Linked DNA regions of Homo sapiens: region 1 is linked to region 2. The links are contacts of gene promoters, found by promoter capture Hi-C in blood cells and fetal thymus (Javierre and others, 2016). All regions are on one chromosome and are shown on one strand. The core of a region is centred on a gene start or on the middle of the fragment in contact, and the rest is flanking DNA. Distances in the headings are between cores, read along the strand shown. Region 1 holds the start of CEACAM18 (CEA cell adhesion molecule 18). Region 2 holds the start of LILRA2 (leukocyte immunoglobulin like receptor A2).

Region 1 (3,021 bases), core at 522-3,021, 3.1 Mb after region 2:
CAGAGAGAAATTCACAAAGAGATTCAGACTGGCTGAGAAGACAAGGAAAAAAGACACCATCCGGGAACGATTCCCAGAGACGCTGGTGAACCAGGCAAGAGTTTCTGGCTCCTGGTAGAGTCCCCAGCTTGTCCCCTCCTGTGCCTCCCCTCAGCCCCTGCCGTGGTCCATTTTACCCTTATCTTCTCCCAGGCCCTCCTCGCTAGCCACACAGCCTCCAATCCATCCTCACATCACAGTTACGTAAATGTTAATAAGCCCAAGTTGCGACCCTGTTCTCCTCTGCTCAAACACCTTCCATGGCTCCCCAGTGCTCTTAGGATACAGTCCAAACTCTTAGGTGGGTATATGAAACACTCTCAGCCAGAGCTGGTGTTTGTGACTCATCGAGCCTCCTTGTGGTGCACACCTACCCCATCCTGTCCCCACTATGCACCTTTTACTCATTTATTCCTGTAGTTATTTATCAGAAGACATGACTGCCACGCTGTATGCCCCAGGCCTCTACATAGCTCTCTTGGTGCACCACACCTTCTCCTAACTCCAGGCTTCGCACACGCTGTTCCCCATTCCCGGCAGGGACTCCTTCTCCCTCCTCTCCATCTGCACCCTCCTTGCTGACTCACTTCTATTCATCACTCAGGTCTCAGCTTGGATGTCTCCTCCACCCCAGCCTGGGTCAGGTGTCCCCTCTGGGCTCCCCCAGCTCCTCCTGGGCTCCCCCCATCCCAGCCATGACCTCTGGGGGTCCTCAGAGTCTGGGCACATATCTATATCTCGCCCTGGACTGTGGGCTCCAGGAGGGCAGGACTGCCCTGTCTCAGTCACCACTGAGTCCCCAGCGCCCCTGAGCACAGGCTGGACACAGGGGGAGTTCAGTAATGATTGTCTGGGTGAGAAATACTCCCCCGAGAATTTCTACATGTCTTTGATTTTGCATCTAAATTCACTGGAGTGGGTGTGAATGGAGGCGGCAGCCTGTTACCACATATGACATGGGCAGTTGTCCACTGCCCTGTGAACCCCAAGCCTGGGCTATGTGGAGGAGGCAGAGATGCCTGAGACCCCGGCTCTAGGCCTCACGTATGGACACACTGGACCTGTTCAAGGACAGTACACGTGGTAAAGCAGGACAGTTGTGCTTGTAGGGGGCACAGAAGGTCCTGGGCAAAGGTGAGGGGCTGGGAAGGAATCTGGCCTGAGAGGTGGGGGAGGGGATGGGGCAGATTGGGGCACCCAGTGGGAGGTGAGTGCAGGGAGGTGAGGGTGAAGGTCCAAGCTCCTGATTCCTGGGCGTAGATAGAAACACAGTTTCTCTCTCTCTCTCTCTGTGTGTGCGCGCGTGTGTGTGTGTGCATGTGCGTGTGCGTGTGTGTGTAACACCACATGTGTGGGTCTGTGCAGGGGTGTGTCTAGGGGCAAAGTGTGCCCACGTGTGTGAGCTCATGAAAGTTGTGCTGAGGGTCCTCCCCCTTCTCCTCTCCCCGACCCCTGCTCTGGGAGTTTCTTGATGTGCCCGTGGATGGGGATGGTCCCAGCCCCCTCCCCGCCGCTTTGCTCCTAGCTGCCCTTCCCTCAGTCCTGGGAAGCTCATCCAGCATCCAGCATCTCTTACCCATGAGGAAGACCCTCCTCCACAGGCTCCATCTGGGTCTGGAAAGGTCCATGAGCTGCCTGGGGTCCTCCAGGAGGAGGGGTCCCTCCAGAGACACAGCCACCTCCTCTGCTCCCTCCAAGACCTGTGTCTCCTGGCACAGAGGCTGCCGGTCTCGTCTCCCAGCCTTCAGGGCGGCCTTTCCTCCCCAGGGTGCACTCTGACCAGCAGGGGTGGGGCCTGGGGAAGACGGCTCTTGAGAGCCCAACCTTATCTTTATGGCTTTATGTTGCCTTTAGTTCATTATTTATTTACTTATTTTTATAATAATTTACATTTTTTTCTCTGGTCATGAAAAAACGGAAAAACACAGGCTCACTGTTGGGAAAACAAAGAAAACCAGAAAATACAGCCAAGTGCCTCAAAGATAGGACATCAAACTCCTCAACTGTATGTCCTGTTTCCATTTGGTTTGGTTTTCCTATGCAGGGCCCAGCTTTTTTTTTTTTTTTTTTTTTTTCACGGAGTCTCGCTCTGTCACCAGGCTGGAGTGCAATGGCATGATCTTGGCTCACCGCAACCTCGTCTTCCGGGTCCAAGTGATTCACCTGCCTCAGCCTCCCGAGTAGCTGGGACTACAGGCTCGTGCCACCACACCCAGCTAATTTTTGTGTTTTTAGTAGAGACGGGGTTACATCATGCTGGCCAGGATGGTCTTGATCTCTTGACCTCGTTATCCGCCCACCTCGGCCTCCCAAAGTGCTGAGATTACAGGTGTGAGCCACCGTGCCCGGTGTAGGGCCCAACTTTTAGACTGCCTGGGGCTGTTTTACAACTGGCTGCTTTCCTCCTCAACAGTGGACTATTTCTCTATGTCACTAAATATTCCTCCCATGACCATTGTGAATGGCTGCAGGGAATGCTCTTCTAGACCTGAACCAGTGTGTGTATAACCAGATCCCTTTGTGAAAGTGCTCACAAGCCAAAAAAATCCCTGAGAAATACAGTGGGGAAGGCTGTGAAGCGAGGGCTCTCTGACAACAAAAATTTTCACAGAAGACGCTGCAGAAACCATAGTCTTGCACAAAAGCCATTGCTTCCTTCCACCAAAAAAATACTTCTGTGACAAGTATTTGGACAGCAACCTCCGGTCCAAACTTGGACTGACGTCACCCTCATTAGGGATCCTTGTAGCCTAGGGTAATTATCTCAAACCATTTATGGGGTCCTCCTCATTTTTCCATTGAAAACCCTTTGTGTTCTTTTACCTCCCTGAATATGCACGTAGTTTACTATAGCACCCAGATTCCCATTGCAATGCCCCATTCCTGAATACATATCATTTTCTTTTAGAGAGCTTCTCTCTGTTTGTTATTTAGGTTGACACTTTGTTGTTGGAGGGTCAGGCTGTTTCTAAAAACAGGGAT
Region 2 (3,276 bases), core at 25-2,524:
GAACTCCAAGCAATTCTGTGAATTTCTCACCTGGGACCAGGAGCTCCAGGAGATCACTGGGTAGAGACCACACATAGGGAGAGTTCGAGTCATAAGCATAGCACCTGTACGACCACCTGCGACTCGGGCTCACGGGGCCCACGGAGAAGATGGCCCAGGACCACCCACGGGCATGGGAATGGGAGTTCAGGCGTTGTGGGTGTTCATCTTCTCCTTCCTTACACAGAATGAAGCCGTCAAATGCCACCTGTGAGACACACTGGAGGGTCACGTTCCCTCCTGAGGTCACCACAGGGCTGGGCAGAGCTGAGAGGGTGGGTTTGCTGTAGGCTCCTAGGAGAGAAGGAGGCACTGTGTTAAATGGGGCTCCCACCTCCCACATCATCCCCAGGGTTGAGCTGTGAGAGCGGAGATGCCCCTGAGAGCCGACCCCCTTCCTGAGGGCAGAGCCTGGGGCTGGGACTCCTGAGTGTCCTCTCACCTGTCACCACCAGCTCCAGGGGGTCACTGTACTCTGATGAGTGATTGTGGCTGTAGTACTGACAGTGATACCGCCCTGCGTGTTCCCAGGTGATGGATGGGATGGGGAACTGGCCATTCTTCCCAGGCTCTTGTATCCGTCTAACCCAGGATGCTGATTTGTTTTCCCTATATAGATGGTACTCCTCAGCCTGAAGGCTCCCCTGACACCTGAGGGTCACAGGACTTCCCTGGATGATCACAGAGCCTGGCTCAGCCCAGAGGGTGGGCTTGGGGAGGTGCCCTGGAAGGAAATCAGAGGTCGGATTCTAAGTCATTTCCCACCCAACAGATCTCAGCTCTCAGCTGCAGGACCCTCCAGACACCCCCATCAGTCAGCCCAGAACTGCTATTCCCCATCCCCAGCTGCACGGGGGTGGCCCCTTGTCCCTAGTGAGGAGGAGGGACCTGGGACAGCTGGGAACAGACTCACCTGCCTGCACGTGGGTCCTGGGGCCCAGACTCAGCCCTGGAAGAGAGTTCCCTGTGAGGGATTTTTCCCCTGAAGCCTGGGCAGGTCCTCCCCTCCCTGGGATCTTTGTGAGCCCCTGGGGTCTCCTTAGGGACCAGAGTTTGGCTGTGGGGTGAGGTCCCTCCTAGGTTAGAAGCTCCCCTCCCTCTTCAAATCTCACCGAGACAGATCAGGACCGTGAGGATGGGGGTCATGGCGTCTCCTCCCACTGCCCTGCTCTGCGGATGGATGAGCCCTCAGTGCTGGCAGGACAGAGAGACGCACAGGGTGTGGACACTCGGAGGCTGGATCCTTCTTGTCATGGGGTTTTGTTATGTGCAACCACACAGGAAGTGCAACTGCCCTCTCAGGAGCCTGGCTGTCATACCTTTAGGGCTGAGGTGGGGGCAGGCACCAGGCCCTCTGCAGACATTTCAGACTGTAATGGGGTCTTTCCTGCCCCCCAGCCACTGTCTGTCTGGTTTATCCTCATCTCCTTGAGACCTGGGATGTAGCAGCAAATAGAACTGGTGCCCTCCTGCGTCTGCCCTTCCAGATGAGGGTGAGCAGAGGCTTCCTCTTCCTTCTCAGAGCTTCCCCATGGGGTCTCCCTCCCTCCTTCAGCCCGTCCATCAGCTCAGCGTTGCGGGGTCCTTACCATGGCGGTCGTCCCTCCAGCCCTGGAGATGCTTCAGGGAAAACCCAGGTCCATGCTGCAGTTAGACTCAGATCAGCAGAGACGCACCTGACACCTGGCTGTGTAGCTCAGGTTGAGCTGCGTGTGGCAGTGAGCACAGAGGAGTAATGCAGGGTCTACCATGGTGGCTCATGCCTGGAATCCCAGCACTTCAGGAGGCTGAGGTGGGTGAAGGCTAGAGGCCAGGAGCTTCAGATTACCCTGGGCCACATAGCAAGACCTTGTCTGTATAAAAAAAGCAAAAAATTAGCCAGGCATGGCAGCTCACATCTCTAGTCCCAGCTACTCAGGAGGCTGAGGTGGGAGGAATACTTCGGCCTGGGAGGCGGAGGCTGCAGGGAGCTATGATCACCCCTTAGCATTCCAGCCTCAGTGACAGAGTGAGACCCTGTCTCAAAAGGGGAAATGCAGGGATTAACTATAATAAAACATATTTGTTCTGTCTTGAGAGTGTGTGTTTCCTTCCTACCAAACCGTCCCTCTCCTGTACTTCCCCTTTTCTCTTTGTTGCAACATCACCCACCCCCACCCCGGGAATGAGGCTCTGAGTCGGTCCCGCCCCCTCAGTGTCCCTTGCGTCCTTGGCCTTCCCTCGGCACCTCCGTCCATGTTCAGAGTTTTCAGAAGAATTTGTTAGGTCTGTAATCTGATTCTGGGGAAGGTGAGCTGATTTGTATTTAATTCCTGATTATCATCCAGGGTTTATGTGACTTTGGACATGAATGTCACCTCTGAGCCTGCTGTCGTGAACCCCACTCATCACAGTGGCTGTGGGGGTCAGTGGTGCCCAGGACATGGGAGGCTCAGCCATGGTGAATTTCCAGACCAGTTCAGACAGGAGGGTGGGGACGGGAGAGGATCCTGGTGCTGGGCTCCACAGTCCAGGAGGATGATTGACGCCCCCACTCAAGAGCCCACATCGGCTCCAAATACCATGAAATTCTCCTTGTGATACATCTGAAATATGCAGATCATCACAGCCACGGGCACAGAAAGAGGAAGAACAGTTCCTCACATTGAGACGCATCCCCTTCCATGAGCAGAGTTCAATGCTGAGTGGCCACAGGTGTCTGGGACCACCCAGGGTCATTAGGGAGGAGGAGGCTCCCACCTCCGTGTGGGACAGAAGAGGAACCCCACGTCCTCCCAGGCAGGGAGGGGTCAGGGCTCTGGGTGACGCTGGAAGCTGTGGCTCCCCCTCCCCTGTGTGTGTGGACAGGCGCTGGGGGGTCTCTGCTCACTCACTGGAGGCCATGGTCAGTGCTCAGCCCCTCCCCTGTGTGTGAGAAACAGATTCAATCCACGGTGGTCTGACATGGGCGTCTGCTCTGCCCCACAGGTGAGTGTGAGACTGGCGTTGGTCCCATCCCTGCTGGGCACAATCTTGAGCTGACACTGAGTTTGGGGGAGTGGGGAGGAGCAGCGGCAACAATCCCCTTCATCAGGCTGATGCCTGGACAGCCGTGGGAGAAACCCTTTATGAAAGGTCAGGTGCGTGGGAGGAGCCGCCCCACAGGAATGACAACCAAGATACATGAGGAAAACACAGACAGTTGTTGAAATGCATTAGACAGACATTGTGAAGGTGAATTAATTTTTATATTAATTT

The links. The method cuts DNA at HindIII sites, captures the fragments that hold promoters and counts their contacts. A CHiCAGO score of 5 or more calls a contact.
Region 1: the fragment with the promoter of CEACAM18 here is called in contact with the fragment with the promoter of LILRA2 in region 2 in 2 of 17 cell types (total CD4 T cells and naive CD8 T cells); the score reaches 8.6 in total CD4 T cells.

What each region holds. Positions count from the first base shown.
Region 1 is chr19:51,477,289-51,480,309 of GRCh38, reverse strand. It overlaps CEACAM18 (CEA cell adhesion molecule 18), which reads right to left and starts at 1,771. Exons shown (of 6, transcript NM_001405061.1): 1 at 1,616-1,771. The coding sequence starts at 1,667. The HindIII fragment of the contact is 9,749 bases long and covers 1-3,021 here.
Region 2 is chr19:54,571,788-54,575,063 of GRCh38, reverse strand. LILRA2 (leukocyte immunoglobulin like receptor A2) reads right to left here and starts at 1,274. Exons shown (of 8, transcript NM_001130917.3): 1 at 1,152-1,274; 2 at 953-988; 3 at 482-763; 4 at 31-333. The coding sequence starts at 1,185. It overlaps LOC107985347 (a long non-coding RNA gene), which reads left to right and starts at 2,236. Exons shown (of 2, transcript XR_002958419.2): 1 at 2,236-2,328. The HindIII fragment of the contact is 11,294 bases long and covers 1-3,276 here.